Linked DNA regions of Homo sapiens: all the other regions are linked to region 2. The links are contacts of gene promoters, found by promoter capture Hi-C in blood cells and fetal thymus (Javierre and others, 2016). All regions are on one chromosome and are shown on one strand. Each heading gives the region's core, a stretch centred on a gene start or on the middle of the fragment in contact. The rest is flanking DNA. Distances are from core to core; before and after follow the strand shown. Region 1 overlaps DYNLRB1 (dynein light chain roadblock-type 1). Region 2 holds the start of TP53INP2 (tumor protein p53 inducible nuclear protein 2). Region 3 overlaps DYNLRB1 (dynein light chain roadblock-type 1). Region 4 overlaps ITCH (itchy E3 ubiquitin protein ligase).

Evidence for each region. Contacts are between HindIII fragments. The CHiCAGO score rates a contact against its expected background, and 5 or more counts as called.
Region 1: a contact is called between a fragment that was not itself captured here and the fragment with the promoter of TP53INP2 in region 2, in 2 of 17 cell types (neutrophils and naive B cells). The highest score is 8.6, in neutrophils.
Region 3: a fragment that was not itself captured here is called in contact with the fragment with the promoter of TP53INP2 in region 2 in 17 of 17 cell types (megakaryocytes, neutrophils, naive CD4 T cells and 14 more); the score reaches 21.2 in megakaryocytes.
Region 4: a contact is called between a fragment that was not itself captured here and the fragment with the promoter of TP53INP2 in region 2, in 1 of 17 cell types (neutrophils). The highest score is 6.4, in neutrophils.

What each region holds. Positions count from the first base shown.
Region 1 is chr20:34,518,919-34,523,613 of GRCh38, reverse strand. The region is part of intron 1 of DYNLRB1 (dynein light chain roadblock-type 1); the gene reads right to left. Among named protein-coding and RNA genes, the nearest start is that of DYNLRB1, 4.8 kb to the right of the region's middle. RefSeq lists an enhancer at 177-676. The HindIII fragment of the contact is 4,361 bases long and covers 950-4,695 here.
Region 2 is chr20:34,701,715-34,706,498 of GRCh38, reverse strand. TP53INP2 (tumor protein p53 inducible nuclear protein 2) reads right to left here and starts at 2,155. Exons shown (of 5, transcript NM_021202.3): 1 at 1,987-2,155; 2 at 1,025-1,141. LOC105372599 (a long non-coding RNA gene) reads left to right here and starts at 2,317. Exons shown (of 2, transcript XR_936690.3): 1 at 2,317-2,362; 2 at 2,686-2,840. RefSeq lists a silencer at 1,880-2,359. The HindIII fragment of the contact is 9,202 bases long and covers 1-4,784 here.
Region 3 is chr20:34,534,547-34,539,513 of GRCh38, reverse strand. DYNLRB1 (dynein light chain roadblock-type 1) reads right to left here. Exons shown (of 4, transcript NM_014183.4): 3 at 4,719-4,886. Among named protein-coding and RNA genes, the nearest start is that of DYNLRB1, 21 kb to the right of the region's middle. RefSeq lists a silencer at 657-766. The HindIII fragment of the contact is 2,327 bases long and covers 750-3,076 here.
Region 4 is chr20:34,498,050-34,502,994 of GRCh38, reverse strand. The region is part of intron 23 of ITCH (itchy E3 ubiquitin protein ligase); the gene reads right to left. Among named protein-coding and RNA genes, the nearest start is that of DYNLRB1, 16 kb to the left of the region's middle. The HindIII fragment of the contact is 5,199 bases long and covers 1-4,571 here.

The sequences.
Region 1 (4,695 bases), core at 1,881-4,380, 180 kb after region 2:
ACATCTGAAGGAAATGAGGGAGTTAGCCATGCCGGTTTCTGGGGAGTGTTCCAGACAGCACCAAGAGCAAGCACAAAAGCCCTGGGGTGGGCAAGCATCCGGTATGTTCAGGGGGAAAAGCAAAGGGGCCACTGTGGCTGAAGGGCAGGGAGCAGGGGAGGGACAGCAGCTGGGATCCGGGACCAGACCACAGACGGCCTGGCAGATCAAGTGTTGACCTTGGTTTTCACTGGGCGTGATTCATGGAGCCACTGTCAAGTTTTGAGGTAAAGAGTGACAAGACCTGATGCTTCCAAAGGACGGCTCTGGCTGCTGTGGGGAGAAGGGACAGCAGGGGGCGAACACAGCCTGCGGAAGCCTCCTACCCCTGCCCTGCCAGGTGCTGCTCTCGGTCTGAAGGAAACAAGCTTCCCTCCTTCACTCACTGCTTGATGTAACTACCTCCCAACCCTTTGGACTCAGCTCCAGAGCCCGCAGGAGGCTTCTCTGACATCAGCCCCTCTACTGGGCACCGAGGCCCCCAGCCTTCGCAGCACTGACCACAATGCAGTGCAACTGTTTAGGTCACGTTCATCTCCTCCTCCAGACGCAAGGCACCCTGGAATCAGGAAACCAGACCAGACTTTATAGCCCCAGTACCTCGCATAGGATAGGCTCAATAAATACTGAAGGAACAAATAAAAAGCATTTCTGCAACTATGTTTCACGAAATCAACCTTTTTAAGTACAGGAGGGGGACATGGCCTCACAGTCCACAGTGTGAAAAAGAGCTAAGGTTTAGGTGATCTGAAACTCAACGAGAACCAGATACTAAGATCTGGCTGTTTAAAAGTAAACATGGGCTGGGCACAGTGGCTCATGCCTGTAATCCCAGCACTTTGGGGGACCAAAGCAGGTAGACTGCTTGAGCCCAGGAGTTTGAGACCAGCCTGGGCAACATGGTGAAGCTTCGTCTCTACAAAAGATAAAAAAAATTAACCATGCGTGGTGTCGTGTGCCTGCAGTCCCAGCTAGTTGGGAGGCTGAGGTGAAAGGATTGCCTGAGCCCAGGAGGCCGAGGCTGCAGTGAGCCATGATCGCGCCATTGCACTCCAGCCTGGAAAACAGAGTGTAAGACTCATCAAAAAAAAAAAAAAAAAAAAAAGAAAAAGAAAAAAGAAAGAAAGAAAAAAGAAAAGTAAACACACATCTCACACATCTATCAGGAATGGGAGGACACATAGGTATAATTTCCCTACTCAGCGCCTACTATGGGTCATATATTGCTTTCAGACACATGCTCTCTTCTGAAACTCCCATTCATGGGTTAGTATGATCTCCATGTTAGTGATGGGGAAACAGGTTTGGAAAGGAGAAGGGTTTTGCCCAAGAACACACTGCAGGTCAACAGAAGAGCTGAATATACTGGTGACCACAACTGAGGAGGTCCCTGCCCTCAGGGAGCTCACATTCTGGTGAAAGAGACTTAAACAAGTGAGCAAGATTCTTGCAGGATACAGGGACTAGGCTGTGGGGCAAGGGATGCTACTCTGGCTAATGTGGTCAGGAACACCTGAGGAGATGTAATCTTTTTTTTTTTTGAGATAGGGTCTCACTCTGTCACCCAGGCGTGCCATGGTTCGATCATGGCTCACTGCAGCCTTGACCTCCCAGGCTCAAGTGATCCTCCCACTTCAGCCTCCCGAACACGTGGGACTACTGATGTGTACTGCCAAACCCAGCTAATTTTTTGTAGAGATGGGGTTTCGACATGTTGCCCAGGCTGGTCTTGAACTCCTGGGCTCAAGTGATCTACTGCCTTGGCCTCCCAAACTGTTGGGACTACAGGCGTGAGCCACCATTCTCGGCCATAAGTATGTCATCTTTAAGCCAAGAATCAAATGATGAGAAAGAAATGCACTCTGGGCAATGGGATGATGGAGACAAGGTTCCCCAATTCTCTAGTTCCCAGATGCACATTCCTGACACATGGAAAAACAAGCAGCAATAAAGATCCAGGAGGATCCATTGGCTCAGCATAGGAGGGATGACCACTGGAAGCAAATGACTGACAAAGAACTATGACCAATTTGACCACTAAACATAAAACTTCTGTATAAGAATAACTAATCTAACAGGATAGAAAAGTATTTGCATCAAATATAACAGACAAAATAAATAAAAAAAAAACACAAAATGACTAAGAACAATAGCAAGTCTCTAGTAGGTAGTGCACAAAAGAATACTAGTAGAAAATATGCCTACGAGAAATTACAATCACATCAAACCATGGTCATCATCCCTCACAAACAAATGAAAAATTCAGCTGGGCGTGGTGCTCACACCTGTAATCTCAGCACTTTGGGAAACTGAGGTGGGTGAATCACTTGAGGTCAGGAGTTTGAGACCAGCCTGGCCAACATGGGGAAACCCTGTCTCTACTAAAAATACAAAAATTAGCCGTCATGGTGGCATGGGCCTGTAATCCCAGCTACTCAGGAGGCTGAGGCAGGAAAATTGCTTGAACCTGGGAGGCAGAGTTTGTAGTGAGCTGAGATCGTGCCCTCCAGCCTGGGCAACAGAGTGAGATTCCATTTCAAAAAAAAAAGACAGAAATGAAAAATTATAGCAATGCTGAGGTTTATTTTTAAATGCTGGCATTGTTATTACAAAACTGGCAGGTGCAAGGGCAATACAATCTTGACAAAGCTACAGGACAATATATTGCAAGAACCATAAAAGCACTGGTCCTTCCACCTCAGAAATTATTTTCCTAAGAATTTTATCCTGAGGAAATAATCTAATAAGTAAGTTAAAATGAAACAAAACAAGATATTCACAGAAGCATCATCACAGCACTATTTCTACTAATTAAGAAATGGAAGCAGCCAGGTATGGTGGCTCATGCCTGTAATCCTGGCACTTTGGGAGGCTGAGGCAGGCGGATCACCTGAGGTCAGGAGTTTGAGACCAGCCTGGCCAACATGGCGAAACCCTGTTTCTACTAAAAAATACAAAAATTAGCTGGGCGTCATGATGCACACCTGTTAATCCCAGCTACTCAGGAGGCTGAGGCAGGAAAATCACTTGAACCTGGGAGGCAGAGGTTGCAGTGAGCTGAGATTGAGCCACTGAACTCCAGTCTGGGCAACAGAGTGAGACTCCATCTCTAAAACAAACAAACCAAAAAGAAATGGGAGCAACCCAAATGTACACAGGTAAGATATTTGGCCAATTATGGTACAACTATTTCACCGAGTATTATGTAGTCACTAAGTAGTTAATCACAAAGATGATATGACAACAAGGTTAAATGTTTTTGGATATTAAAACAACAAAAAAAGAAAAAAATCCCCCCAAAACTCAGCATGCATTATCTTGGAAAATATGCATATGTGAACAAAAGAGGAAGGAGAACATACAAAGATGAAAATAGTTATGTGGCACAGTGAAACTGGACGAGGAGAATTATATGTGATTATTTTTTAATTTTATTTATTTATTTTGAGACAGAGTCTTGCTCTGTTGCCCAGGCTGGAGTGCACTGGCCTGGTCTCGGATCACTGCAACCCCCGCCTCCCGGGTTCAAGCGATTCTAGTGCCTCAGCCTCCTGAGCAGCTGGAATTACAGATGCACGGCTTCCGGCTACTTTTCGTATTTTTAGTAGAGACAGAGTTTCACCATGTTGCCCAGGCTGGTCTCCAACTCCTGACCTCAAGTGATCTGCCCACCTTGGCCTCCCAAAGTGCTGGGATTATATGCGTCAGCCATTGTGTCCGGCCAATTATAGATGATTTTTATATCATTATTCTAAAGGTCAGTTTCCACCTAAAATGTAAAATATGCAAGCCAAAAGTGCCACTTGTAGAAATCTATCCTACATAACCACTAGCATGAGTGCAAAAAAGACAAGAACAGTTACTGCAGCAGTGTCTGGAATAAAAAAACTATACACCACCTAAATGTACATATGGGACTAGGATACGATACAGACCTTAAAAAGAATGAAGTGGACCTGCATATAATAACACAGAAAAATGTGTGATATTTTTAAGTGAACAGAACAAGTTGCAGAATAAGATATATACATATATATCTTAAAGTCAACTTCTGTTTTCTCTTATTTTTTTCTCACCCAGGGTGGAGTGCAGTGGTGCAGTCACGGCTCACTGTAGCCTTGACCTCCTGGGCTCAGGCGATCTCTCCACTTCAGCCTTAAAGTAAAGTTAACATATACAAATATATATATATTCCAGTTTCATCTAATAAACAGCTTATACATAAATGTGCTTATGCACCAAACACATCTGGAAGGAAACACACCCAACTGCCAACAGAAGTTGCCACGGGGTAGTAAGATGGGGACCACATAAACTTTCTATATTATATCCTCTGGTACTGCTTCAAATTGTTAACATACATGGTGGTTTACGCCCATAATCCCAGCATTTTTGGAGGCGGAGGTGGGCGGATCACCTGAGGTCATGAGTTTGAGACCAGCCTGGTCAACATGGTGAAACCCTGTCTCTACTAAAAATAGAAAAAAAACCCTGTCTCTACCAAAAATAGAAAAATTAGCCAGGCATGGTGGCATGCTCCTGCAGTCCCAGCTACTCCGGAGGCTGAGGCAGGAGAATCACTCGAACCCGGGAGGCAGAGGTTGCAGTGAGCTCAGATCACACCACTGCACTCCAGCCTGGGCGAAAGGGCAAGAC
Region 2 (4,784 bases), core at 906-3,405:
AGCCCAGAAAGTTTGGCCCCTCTTGAAGGAAGGGAATATCGAGGCCTTGATGAGGCACATCCTCCTTCCAAGAACCTACTAATTCATGGAATATGAAAGAGAAGTTAAGAGCTGTTTCAGGGACCATCATATTCACCCAGCCCATTTTAAAATCTGATGATCAGAAAGAAGACATAAATCTATCCAAAAATACATGGCTAGATAGTGGCAGGGCAGACCTAGTCCCACGTTACTGTGCATCCAGTCCAGAGTGTACACAGTCAGGAAAGACTCAGCAAACAATCCCCAAGAATACAATGATGCAGGGGTACAGGGAGGTGAAAAAGACCTTGACCTAGCCACACCACCCCTCGCCTAGCTACAAAAGGGTCTGGGGTTACTGGCACCAAGATTTAGCATGCATTTACTGAAGACCCACTGTGTACCAGAGCCTGCACTGTGCCTCCCCAAATTTCAGATAGGTTTAGGGGAGGGAGGCTCAGGGGAAAAGCTCCCTGCCTGAGGTCACACAGCAAGTCAGTGACAGCCAGGAGTGAAAGCAGTCACCAGCCAGCCAGTGCCTGCCCCCTCTCCTGACCACTTGGGGAGCCTCCCAGATTTCCTTTCCCAGCCCTGCCAGCTTCCTGGTTCTCACATTCCCAGTTCTGCTCCAGGGAGAACCATTCCCTTTAATAACTACAGCAGCTCTGCCCAGAATAGCATTTGTGCCCTAAGCCACCCCTACCCCCAGCCCATCCTTGAGCAAACTCCCAGCAGGAATGGAGTTCCTGGTTCAGCCTCTAGGCCCATCCACTTGTTAAGTCAGAAACTCTCCTTATCCTATCCCTTCTCCTATACTCTCTGTGGGCAGAGGTGACGAGGGAGCAGCAAAACACCTGCAATTGTCTGCACTAGGCCAGGTCAGGCCCTTCCTAGCTGACGACCTAGGAAGTTGGGAAGGTAAAGGGCCAATAGAGGGAACCCTCACCCCACCCTCCACCCCAACATCAGCCCTGGAGACACCCCGAGGCAGCCAATGACTCACCTCTCTGTGATCCAAACAGCTGGGAGGCAGCGATTTTATTGGACTCTAGGACTTCAAGGTACAGTGAGGACAGAAGGGGTCAGGACCACAAAAGGTGAACCAATCTCCAGAGATTCCCTGGAAAAGGGTCCAGGAGTAAGGACACCTAGGAGCCTATCAAACCGTGATAAGGCTGAGCCCAAGATCGGGTCCCCAGTGGAAGGAGGATGTGTATCTTACCACTTGTACTGAGCCCCTATTATGTCTTTGCCCCTGGCTAATAATCCATCTGTCACTCAGTGAGCATGACTCTAATTGGTTATGTGACCTCGAGAGAGCTAATCCTCCTCTCTGGGCCTGTTGCCCCTTCCATGCACTGGGGTCTAAGACCCTTCATTTTGGGTCTAGGAGTGACATCAGCTAAGGCGCTGCACACAAATCAGGGATTAGGAGGATGTTATTCTGTTAGTCCCTGGGGGCGGAGTCTGGAGCCGGAGGGAGGGGATCCCACCACCATCTGGTGCTGTCCCAACCACCTGGAGTCCCATGCAGCCCTGAACTCCTGACGACCCCCTCAACCTAGGCCCAGCAGCGCCGTCTGACTCCTTCTCAGGTTGCAAAGAGAAAGTAGGGGATCAGAGGCCTGACCCCAGCCCCTGGATAAGCCTAGGAAATCGCCGATCCCCCTGCAGCCCCCTTTGGATTGCAGCGTCTCACCCAGGGCCCAGCCCCGACACAGCGGCTACCGGGTCACGGGAGGACAAGCGACCCGAGCCTGTGGGGGCGGTACCGGCCTTGGTGACGTCTCAATGTCATATGCAAATAGAACGACGTCATGGTCTACCGGGCGTGCGGCAACCAATCGGGAGCCGGGAACGCGGCCCCGGCGGCCGCCGGCGGAGACAGACAAAGGCCCGGGCGCGGGGGGCGCAGGGCGTGTCCGTGGCAGGGGAGCCCCCAGGCCCACCCGGGTCGGGACTCACCTGGGGGCGGGAGGGGGGCGGCACGGCGTTGAGGTAGTTGTGCGGCGGGGCGTCCCAGGGTCGCCGGCCGCTCACAGGCCGGGCCGCATCGCCGGGACTCGCGGGGGAGGCGGCGGGGCCGCGGTCGCTCCGGGCTGCTGAGCTCGCCCGCGGGGCTTTGAGTCTGTGCGGCCGCTGCGGCGGGGCTCACGGCACAAATTGGAACGTTCAAACAGCTGATTGTGACGTCACAAAGGGGCCCGCCCGCCTCGCGTCACCGGCTGGCGGGGCGGCGGCCAATCCCGGGCTGCGGATCCCCCCCTGCCCCTCCCCTCCCCTCCCCTCCCGGTTTGCGGGCCGGGCGCTCGGGCCGGGAAACGTTCTCGGAACCGGGAGGGTGAGTGTTCGGGGAGGCAGCTGCGGGGAGCTGGGAGCCCTGCGCCGCGGCGAGCTCTCCGCGAGGAGGATCTCCACTCCCTCCTACCGGCTCCTTATTTTCCTGATTCTTCCCGGATCGCAGCGCCCTCACCTCTCCCACTGCTCCCCAAATCCTTTCACTGCATCCTATATCCAAGTCCCCCGATGCGGACCCTGTTCTCGACCCACACCACGTCCGTGCACCTGCATTCTCCCCACTGCCCTTATTCCTGCTCTCCCTCCCCCCTCTGGCTCACCTCCTCAGCCTTACACACTCTGCTTTCCCACCCCGTTTTTCCTCAGCTCGGCGGGCTTGAGAAAAGAGGGACATCCCCAACCCCCGGTTCCCGGGGAGCATCTGGGAATGTAGAGAAGTTAGTGAAGCTGACGTGAAATTTCGCAGAGTAGGACTTGGAGAGGAATTGCCCTGGGCTGAGTAAACATTGACCTGAGACGGCTCCGCGCTTGAACGTTTACATACCTTATTTAATCTATGTTGCTACCGGGGCTGTAAAGAAGTGGCAGGACAGGGACTGATTATGAGTCCTGATTTACACGTGGGAAAGCTGAGTCTCACAATCTCACTGTTAGCGTGTGAACTCATGTTCAACAATGCATTCAACATTTATTAGGCACCTACTATTGCACCACCATACCACTAGCTGACATGTATTGGCACACTTACTGTGTGCCACGACCTGTGCTATGGGTGTGTTTTTTTATCTTCACAACAACCCAAAAGGTAGATATTGTCCCGTTTAACAGTTGAGGAAACAGACTCAGAGAGCTCAAGTGACTTTCTTAGGTCACAAAAGTACAGTCAATGGCAGAGCCAGGATTTGAACCCATAGCTCCCAGCCCTGACCCTCTCCATTCTCTACATGAACCAGATGGTCTAAACCTCAGGGCGCTTTAGCCTCCCCAGAGTCCTGGCTTTCAGTCCTGACTGTGCCCTAGACTTGCTGTGTGACCTCAAGTCATGTTACCTCTCTGGGTCTCAGTTTGTCAAACAAACATATCCAGGCTTCCCTCTAGAGCTGCCATTGTAAGATTCTTCCACACTCTCTGCCCTCAGGATTCCACCCACCCCACGCTCTAGGCCCCAGCTCTCCCAGTGGCCTGGGAGATGCCCGAGAAGAGACCACAAATACACATATCAGAATCTCCAGGGCCAGAGGTTCTAGGTCAGCAGAGCAGGGCTGGTGGGGGAGGGTCCGAGAACTGCCCACCTAGCCCAAAAGGAGGCCGGAGGTGACCTAGGCCAGAGGTTAATGATCTAGTGATAAAACTTTTTTTTTTTTTTTGAGACGGAGTCTCGCTCTTGTTGCCCAGGCTGCAGTGCAGTGGCACGATCTCGGCTCACTGCAAGCTCCGCCTTCCGGGTTCACGCCATTCTCCTGCCTCAGCCTCCCGAGTAGCTGGGACTACAGGCGCCCGCTACCACGCCCGGCTAATTTTTTGTATTTTTTGTATTTTTGTATGTTTAGTGTTAGCCAGGATGGTCTCGGTCTCCTGACCTTGTGATCTGCCTGCCTCGGCCTCCCAAAGTGCTGGGATTACAGGCGTGAGCCACCGTGCCCGGCACTCTAGTGATAAAACTCTATCCCAGCCTCATCTGAAACCCCCAAGGGACTCCTTAACCCTAGCGACAGGGGAAGAAGCCAGAAAAAAATAACCCAAGGCTGAGGGGTGGAGAGGGGAGTGGCATTGTGGCCCTTGGAGTGTTATACCCAAAGTGTCCTCATTCCATGCAACTCTGAGCCTCTGCCCATCACAGCCACTTCCTGCTAACCTCATACCCTTTCAGACCTACTTGCTGACTTTAATTAAATAATCCCTAACACGTCTCTCCTGTCAAGCCACTTGTTTGTTCTAAAACCTGATGTGGCTCCTAAAGCCCCACACTCCTAACACAGAACTCATGCCCCCCATGCTCCGGCCCCAGTTCTCTCCAGCTTCACCTCCCCTTCTCCTACACGCATCTTGTGCTAAAGTCAAACTCCTTGTTGACTCTACAGCACTCTCCCACCTCCACCCTTTTGCTCAAGCTGTTTCCCCTGCCTGGAATGCCTTCTTCAGAACTTTCTGAAATCCAGATCTTTCCTGTCTTCAAGATTCTACTTGGCCAGGTGTGGTGGCTCACAGCCATAATCCCAGCACTTTGGGAGGCCAAGGCAGGAGGATTGCTTGGGGCCAGGAGTTTGAGACCAGCCTGGCCAATATAGCGAGACCACTTATCTGCAAAAAATGAGAAAATTAGCCAGATGCCATGCACCTGTAGTCCCAGCTGCTTAGGGAGGCTGAAATAAGAAGATCACTTGGGTTTAGGTTACAATGAGCTATGATCAAGCCACTGCATTCCAGCTTGGATGACAGAGCCAGACCCTGTCTCTTAAAAAAGA
Region 3 (4,967 bases), core at 664-3,163, 170 kb after region 2:
CAGATGGGGTCTCACTATGTTGCCCAAGCTGGTTGCAAACTCCTGGGCTCGAGTGATCCTCCTGTCTCAGCCTCCCAAAGTGTTGGGATTATAGGTGTGAGCAACCACACCCAGCCAGTTAATGTCAATTTCTGTCACAAACTCAATTTGTTGGCTTTCCAGAACCTTCTGAATAAGAAAATTTCAAAATGGGACAAAGCAGCCTGGATTCCAGCTCCAGGGATCTGGCCCTGTAAGGAGGAATGTCCACCATTAAATCACAGCAAGTCCAAGTCCTTGGAGGTGAGCCTGAGTGCCTCCCGTTTCACTGAAGAGGTAACTGGAGAAGTGGTATTGTTGCATTTAGGGCTTGATGATTTGGAGTAAAAGACACTGATGTTACCGATTGTGCCTATTTTTATCAGTGGCTTGTTAATTATTTGTTTTCATTAGTGATTTTTATATATGCAGATTTACCCACTTAATCAAACTGCAAACATTGATCAAGGCTTCTTTGTGTCCAGGTCTGGGCCACCCACTTCTCACACGGCACCTCAGTGAATCCTCGAGTCACTCTGAGAACACGGAGCCTCAGAGAGTTAAAGGGCTTGCCCAATCCAGGGTAAATCCACAGGTGGAGTGGGGACAGGGACCTGGGTTTGACCCCATACTCTGAACTGCCCTGGTCTGCTGCCCCCTGCTGAGCATGAGCGAAATGGCAGGACCTCAGCCAAGTCACTTTGTGGCTGTTCAGAGCCAAGCCTAAAGCTTGGTTCTTCCCACGAAGATGGGCTGTTGCAACAGGGAAGAAACAGAAATGAAGTGACTAACAGTTTCATGGCTAACCAATCTGCATACATAAAAATCACTAATGAAAACAGAAATAATTAACAAGCCACTGATAAAAATAGGCACAATCGGTAACATCAGTGTCTTTTACTCCAAATCATCAAGCCCTAAATGCAACAATACCACTTCAGGTGCTTTGTGAGAGGTAGTGTGTGTTGAAGGTTGTGTAGGCTGAGTTAGTTACCTCAGCTTTAATACTAGTGAAGTTAATAAGTGAAAACTAGAAGTCTGTTTTTTTTGTTTTGTTTTTTGAGACTGGGTCTCGCTGTTGCCCAGGCTGGAGTGCAGTGGCGTGATCATGGCTCACTGCAGCCTCAACTGCCCAGGCTCAAGCGATCCTCCTGCCTCAGCCTCCCGAGTAGCTGGGAATACTGGTGCCACCATGTCCAGCTAACAAAAGTTTGTGTTAAAATGTCTTGGCCGGGCATGGTGGCTCACGCATATAATCCCAGCACTTTGGGAGGCTGAGGTGGGAGAATCGCTTGAGCCTAGGAGTTTGACACCAGCCTGGGCAACATAGTGAAACCCTGTCTCTACCAAAAAAAAAAAAAAAAAAAAAAATGCTGGGTGTGGCGACACATGCCTGTGGTCCCAGCAGTATACTAGGGAGGCTGAGGCTGCAGAGAGCCATGATCGCACCACTGCACTCCAGCCTGGGCAACAGAGCTAGACCCTGTCTCAAAAAAAAAAAAAAAAAAAAGCCTGTTCACGTGGGCGGTTCTGGGCCAGGGTGGGGTGAATGTGGCACACATGTGGAGAGCCACACTGTCTGGAACACCTGCTGCTGTCTGCAGCCTGGGAAGCAGTACCTCAGCTGGATGGGGTCAGGTCAGGCAGGTGGGAAGGCATGGATCTCCCTCCCGGGCCAGGCTGCTCCAGGCTGCCCACGATGTGTAGGGTGCTAACTACAGTCTCAAACGGGCACTTCCAGCAGCAGCCAGGCCTGCTCTACGCCTGTGGCCACCCCTGGGTCCTGTGTTCTGTAGCCATCCTGAGGCAATTCAGCGCCAGGGCCTCCTAGGCTCTGCGTGGTGGCTCCTGACCACAGGAGTTCTGGCACCAAAACCCAATTATTTTTTCTTGGCCACATAAAAGTGGGTATGTCAAAGTGTCAAATCACTGGTTTTCATCCTAAAACTATGCCCCACAGACATCCCTGACCCCGTCCCCACTGCTGACCCCACTTCTGACCCATATCAGTGGGGTGTCAGCAGTGGAGGGAGGTTTACAGAGTCATTCATTTATTTAATCAATGGATATTTGCTAGATGCTTACTATGTGCTTACAAGCCCCTGCCCTCATAGAACTTACTCTCAAGTGGAGTAGATGGCCTTAAAAATGCAGGTAAGCATTTGGTGACGAGGAAGGACTTGAGTGGCAGCAGTGAGGCTGAGCCAAAGAAGCATGCTCTGTAAGACAAGCTCAGCGCGCCACCGTCCTCCAGCACAGCGCCGCATGTGTGTGGGAGAGAGACAGTGTGACTTGAGAGCACGGGCGCCCCCTGCAGTGCTGCCAAGGTGAGGGACTGGCCACCTCATCCTCCTCCACTGACAAGGTTGTGGGATCTCCAGGCCTGTGAACCCCAAGGAGAACCCCCTACTTGGGAGCTGCCCATTCTGGACTCAAGCACCAACCACAGTCATGGGCTCTGAATGCCTGTGGGTCTTCAGGGCCAAATTGGAGACGCTGCCGCTGCCAAGTTGAGACCTGAATGGCCAGGAGCTTTCAGATGACACTGTCCTTCCAGAGGAGACATTCTCAGGAGCTTTATGCCAAGGGACACTGTCTGTGGAGAATTTGTCTGATTTGGAGACCAAGTAATTTGCTCCCTTCCCCCATACCCTGAACTCCCAGTGGGCCACTGGGGAGCACAAGGTCTGCTGTGCACAGGGTGAGCAGGGGGACTGTTCCCGGCCCAACTTTTTTTTTTTTTTTTTTTTTGAGACAGAGTCTCACTCTGTTTCCCAGGCTGGAGTGCAGTGGCGCGATCTCAGCTCACTGCAAGCTCCGCCTCCTGGGTTCAAGTGATTCTCCTGCCTCAGCGTCCCAAGTACCTGGGATTACAGGTGTGCGCCACCATGCCCAGCTAATTTTTTTATTTTTAGTAGAGACGGGGTTTCACCATGTTGGTCAGGCTGGTCTTGAACTCCTGACCTTGTGATCCGCCTGCCTTGGCCTCCCAAAGTGCTGGGATTACAGGCGTGAGCCACTGCGCTCCATCCCGGCCCGACTTTTGGGGAGTGAAGCTTTGTCCTCTGCAGTCACACAACATGACAACCTGGGAGGAACTGCAGTTTAAATCTGATTCCAAGGCTTTTTCCCCCAACCCAGGTCAACACACTCAACCAGGCAGGGTGGCTCAGGACATCAGCACAGCACAGTCCCCTACTCGACACTTTACAGATGTGGATTTGCAGGTGTTCTGCGACTTGCCCAGGGTCATGCTTGTGGGAAGCAAAGCTGGGAAAACAGATTCTGTGCCTCCTGCAGTCTTTTCTCCCCGATGGATCAGGCATTACACACAGAAGCGTGATTTTGGAATAATAGACTCTGGAGTTATTCTTATGTTCTTCTCTGTGACTGAACTGCTCTGTCCCCACCCCTCTAGGGAGTGTCCCAGGGAGCCTGTGGGCTGCTGTGACTGGCTCTATAGTTCTTTCCTGCCCATCCTTCCAGGCCTGGTGACAGAACCTATGCTGGTCTGCTGCAGGGAGTGGCTGACCTCCCATCAAATTACCTCAGAACTCTGTGGCCAGCCTCCTTGCCCTCTGTGTTGCCAGTCCAGAGCATTCAGTGTCCCCAGACCCCCCACTGCCTTCCTTTATCCAGGTCCTAATCATAATCCTATCACCTCCTGCCCTAAAAACCTCTGCTTGCAAGATCAAGTCCATGCAACTGAGTTAGGTGTTTGTGGCCCCTTCTAAACTGGACCAAAGCCTCACCTCCCACTCCTCCCCACTCACATCCTGATGCCCTAGATAAGCGGCACTGCAGCGGGAGTGCACCATCACGCGCATACGTGACGCACGCACACTCAACTATGTGGCTCAGCCAAGAAAAAGCAGAGTGAGAAAAAAGTAATAATGCAAAGACGGCCCTGGAGGCTCTGCCTGCCACCCCAGTCCATGAGTGAGAGCGAGGGAGCCGGGCAGGAGATGTGGCTCTGTTGCTCGCTCCTGTGCTCCCATCCTTGTGGGCTCCTCCCAGAATGAGCATCTCCTCACCCTGAGAATGATCCTAAGGACTAAACACAGGCCTTGGTTGCACCACAGAGCCCCCAAATGCAAGGCAAGCACCTCGCGTAAAGGAAACAAAGCAATCTGCTCCCGTGCGGCAGGAAAAGCTGGCTGTAAGGGGCCTAAAGACAGGCCTGGCCTTTACAAGTGGGCAGAGAACATGTTTTCAAGGATAAAATGATACAGTACTTTTGCTTTACATTTTGGAGAAGAATCACTGAATATTCTTCCAAACGTGGCTTTCCGCCCCTCCGCCTTGCTCACACTGCTTCCTGGTGCCCTTAAGATTCAGCTCCAGTGTCCCCTCTTCTGGGAAGCTTTTGCAGACAGCCCCAGACAGGCCTGGCCACACCCTCCTCTATGTCCCAAATGCCTTTGAGTTTTCTCCTATCAAGGAAGGGGAGACACACATGATGCTCACGTGTCTGTCTATCTCAGGAGACTGGGGTTACCCTCTGGGGCCGGTCCCTGGGAGGATCTGCTATGGGACACCAGCTGGAGGCTGGCTAGGCAGTGAGGCAACAACCCAATTCCTTCAACTCCTCGGGCCCTGCTTGGATCCTCTGGAGACACCACTGTGCCAGGACTCCTGATGAGCCACAGAGAATGTGCCATGAGGTCTGTTCCTACATGGGGAGGTAGAAGACCCCTTACCTGGTGCAACCATAATTTCATTTTTCTTGGAGCGAATTCGAAGGAAGGTGAGATCGTTCTGGGGGTCGATGTCACGCACGGTGCTCCGTGCCTTCAGGATGAAGCTGTGCATGAGGCTGGCATACTGGGTGGTGGTGGGGTTGTCCATGGTGCTCTTGATGGGAATGCCTGAGGGGAGAGCAGACGGAGACTGAGAGGATGTGGAGCCCCTTCTGCCGAGCTCCCACCCACACCCCTAATTGGGGAGAA
Region 4 (4,945 bases), core at 723-3,222, 200 kb after region 2:
TGTCACCCTGGCTGGATGGCAGTGGCACAATCTTGGCTCAATGCAACCTCCGCCTCCTGGGTTCAAGCAATTCTCATGCCTTAGAGTAGCTGTGATTACAGATGTGCACCACCACACCCAACTAATTTTTGTATTTTTAGTAAAGATGGGGTTTTACCATGTTGGCCAGGCTGGTCTTGAACTCCTGGCCTCAAGTGATCAACCCACCTTGGCCTCCCAAAGTGTTGGGATTACAGGCATGAGCCATCATGTCCACCCTCTACTCAATATTTTATAGCATTTTCTTTTTTTTTTTGAGGCGGAGTCTCCCAGGCTGGAGTGCAGTGGAGCAATCTTGGCTCACCACAACCTCCGCCTCCCAGGTTCAAGTGATTCTCCTGCCTCAGCCTCCCGAGTAGCTGGGATTACAGGTGCCCACTACCACACCCGGCTAATTTTGTATTTTTAGTAGAGATGGGGTTTCACTATGTTGGCCAGGCTGGTCTTGAACTCCTGACCTCAAGTGACCCAACCGTCTCGGCCTCCCAAAGTGCTGGGATTACAGGTGTGAGTCACTGTACCTGGTCACATTTCATTTTTTATAAATTTTTTTTTTTTTTAAGACACAGGGTATCACTATGTTGCCCATGCTTAAGTGCAGTGGCTGTTCACAGAAGCAGTTATAGTGCACTACAGGCTTGAAATCTTGGGCTCCAGCAATTCTCCTGCCTCAGCCTCCAAATAACTGGGACTACAGATGTGTGCCCACCATACCTAGCAGCATATTTAACTACATAGATGGAAAGGAGTTTCATTTAATAATGCACATTAGTATGTAACAGAAAGGATTCTGAATTGCTTTTAATAGATTTAAAATCAAATATTAAAAACTCTGACACTGTCCCTAAACCATACAACTTCTGTGTAGACTTTTGTACCTATGTTCCTATTTTCAGCCACCTTTCAAATGTTATGGTCTCCGAGGCTTTTTTACATGTTAGAGCCTTGGCCTATAGTAGAATTTCATGACAGGAGATATATTCTGATACTATGCTTTTAAGATCTACCTCATTTTTCTCCACCTTGACCATCTATAATTTATTTTTGCAGGTGTATTATTCATACTTTATTTAGGTTACTTCCCTCCTTTTGTTATCACATATACTTAAGTCTATTATTTATCTTTCTCATCTGTTCTTTTATTTTCCAGTACTACTTGTCTTTTTTTTTTTTTTTTTGAGAGATGGAGTTTCGCTCTTGTTGCCCAGGCTGGAGTGCAATGGTACGATCTTGGCTCACTGCAACCTCTGCCTCCCAGGTTCAAGCGATTCTCCTGCCTCAGCCTCCTGAGTAGCTGGGATTACAGGCATGTGCCACCACGCCTGGCTAATTTTGTATTTTCAGTAGAGATACGGTTTCTCCATGTTGGTCAGGCTGGTCTCGAACTCCCAACCTCAGGTGATCCGCCCGCCTCAGCCTCCCAAAGTGCTGGGATTACAGGCGTGAGCCACCGCACTCAGCCCTTCCAGTACTTCTTATAGAGAATGGCTTTTGATCTTGTCTTAAACCTTTTCTTATAAGTAGGAACAAATATTTGACTTCTTAGGTATATCTTCTAACATAGTTGTCCCCAAATAGACATGTATTAAAACACATATTATTTCATTATAAATTACCTAAAAAATTTAATCCCTTATATTACAGTTAAGGCTATGTATAAGTATTTTCTAGGGATTGTCAATAGGTTATTTCATCCATAAATCAGTGTATTAAAGGGGATATTATGAATATATATTAATAAAAGTGGGATGTTGGATCCATCCCCAAGGTCAAGAAGCATCCCATTAAAGAATTACATACACCACCTCTAAAACTTTCTCTTCCTGTGCTGGGTGGAAGTTTAAACTAGATGGCTGCCTCTGCAGAAACCTTACAGACCAGGAGAGAATGAGATAATATTCAAAGTACTGCAAGAAAAAAATTGGCAGCCAAGATTACTATACCCAGCAAAACCATCCTTCAGACATACAGGAGAAATACAGTATTTCCCAGACATGGGGAAATAGAAGGAATTCATCACCTTATGAAAAATGCTCAACGGACTCCCACATCTGGAAGTGAAAAGATGATAATCACTCTCATGAAAATACACAAAAAGTATTAATATAACACTCTGGTAGAGCAGATACACTAAGGGAAAAAAGAACCAAACCTTAGCACTATAGAAAACCACAAAAACCATAATGATAAACAATGAGAGAAAGAAAGGAACGACGGATATATAAAGCAACCAGAAAGTAATTTTAAAAATGACAGGAGTAAGTCCTGATCTATCAGTAATAACCTTGAATATAAGTGGATAAATTCCCTACTAAAAAGATATAGACTGGCTGAATAGATTTAAAAAGAAAAATGACCCAACTATCATATGCTGCCTCCAAGAAACTTGCTTTACCCGTAAAGACACATACAGACTGAAAAGGAAGGGATGAAAAAGATATTTCATGGAAATGGAAATCCAAAGTGAGCAGGAGTAGCTATACATATATCAGGCAAACAGACTTTAAATCAAAAACTATAAAAAGAGACAAAGGGCATTCTATAATGATAAAGGGACCAATTCAACAAGAGGATATGAGAGTTATATATGCACCCAACACCAAAGAACCCAGATATAAAAAGGAAATATTATTATATTAAAAGGGAAAGACAGACTCCAATACTAGTTGGGGACTTCAATATCCACTCTTAGCACTGGATAGATCATCTAGACAGAAAATCAACAAAGAAACATTGGATTTAAACTGTACTTCAGACCAAATGAACCTAACAGTCATTCATAGAACATTTCATCCAACAGCTTCAGAATACACATTCTTGTCATCAGCACATGGAACATTCTCCTGGGGAAACCACATATTAAGACCCAAAACAAGTCTCAACAAATTTAAAAGAACTGAAGTCATAATGTCAAATATATTTTCTGAACACAATGGAGTAAGACTAGAAATCAATAAAAAGAGGAACTTTCAAAATTGTATAAATACATGGTAATTAAACGTGCTCCAGAATGACCAATGGGGAAATGTAAAAGGAAATTTAAAAATTCCATGAAACAAATGCAAATGGAAACACAATATATTGAAAATTATAAAATATAGCAAAACCAATATTAAAAGGTAATGTTATAGCAATAAATGCCTACATCAAAAAAGTGGAAAGATTTTAAACAAATGACCTAATGATACACTTTGAGAAACCAGAAAAGAACAAAGCAAACCCAAAATTACTAGAAGGAAAGAAATAATAAAGATCAAAACAGAAATAAACAAAAATGAGGCTAAAAATGAAGACAAAAGATAGATGAAATGAAAAGTTGTTTTTTTTTTCTGAAAGGATAAACAAAATTGACAAACCATTAGCTAAACTAACCAAGAAAAGACCCAAATAAATGAAATCAGAAACGAAAAGGGAGACATTACAACTGACACCACAGAAATACAAAGGACCTTTAGAAATTATTATGAACTACACACCAACTTAGAAAACCTATGGAAATTGATACATTCCTGGACACATACAACCTACCAAGACTGAACCAAGAAAAAGCAGAAAAGCTGAAAAGATCAATTATAAGTAACATGACTGAATCTGTAATAAAAAGTCTCCCATTTGCACTCCAGCCTGGGTGTCAGAGCAAGACTGTCTCAAAAAAAAAAAAAAAAAAAAAAAAAAAAAAAAAAGCTGGGCACAGTGGCTCACGCCTGTAATCCCAGCACTTTGGGAGTCCAAGGCGGGCGGATCACAAGGTCAGGACATCGAGACCATCCTGGCTAACGCGGTGAAACCCCGTCTCTACTAAAAAGACAAAAAATTAGCCGAGCATGGTGGCAGGCGCCTGTAGTCCCAGTTACTCGGGAGGCTGAGGCAGGAGAATGGTGTGAACCTGTGAGGCGGAGGTTGCAGTGAGCCGAGATCGTGCCACTGCGTTCCAGCCTGGGTGAAAGAGCAAGACTCTGTCTCAAGAAAAAAAAAAAAAGTCTCCCATCAAAGAAAACAAAAGTCTAGGAACCAATGGAATTCTAACAAACATTTAAAGAAGAACTAATACCAATTCTTTTCAAGCTCTTCCAGAAAATAGAAGAGAGAATTTTTTGAAACTCATTCTACAAGGCCAGCGTTACCCTGATACCAAAACTAGACAAGGATACAAGAAACAAAAACAAAAAAAAAGGAGGAAAAGAAAAGAAAAGAAAACTATAGGCCAATATCCTTGATGAACACAGATGCAAAAATCCTCAATGAAATACAAGCAAATCAAATTCAGCAACACATTAAAAAGATCCAAAGGTTGCAAGGATGGTTCAACATATACAAATCAATGAACATAACAAAGTATATCAACAGAATGATGGGCTAAACCATATGATCTTCTCAATAGATGCAGAAAAAATATTTAATAAAATCCAACATCACTTCATAAGAAAAACTCTCAACAAGTTAGGCACAGAAGGAATGTACCTGAACATAATAAAGGCTATATATTACAAATCCACAGCCAACATCATACTGAACAGAGAAAACTAAAAGCTTTTCCTCCAAGATATGGAACAAGACAAGGGTGCCCACTTTCACCACATTTATTCAACAAACTGCTGGAAGTCCCAGCCAAAGCAATTAGATAAGAGAAAGAAATAAAGGGCATCAGAATTAGGAAGAAGTTGAACTATACCTGTTCGCAGACAACATGACCTTATATACAGAAAACCTTAAAAACTCCACCAATAAAAAATTATTGGAACTGATAAACACATTAAGTAAAGTTGTAGGATACAAAATCAACATACAAAAATCAGCAGCGTTTCTATAAAACAACAAACTAGAAGAAAAAGAAATCAAGAAAGCAATCCTACTTACAATAGCTACAAACAACAAAAACCTAGAAATAAATTTAACCAAGGAGGTG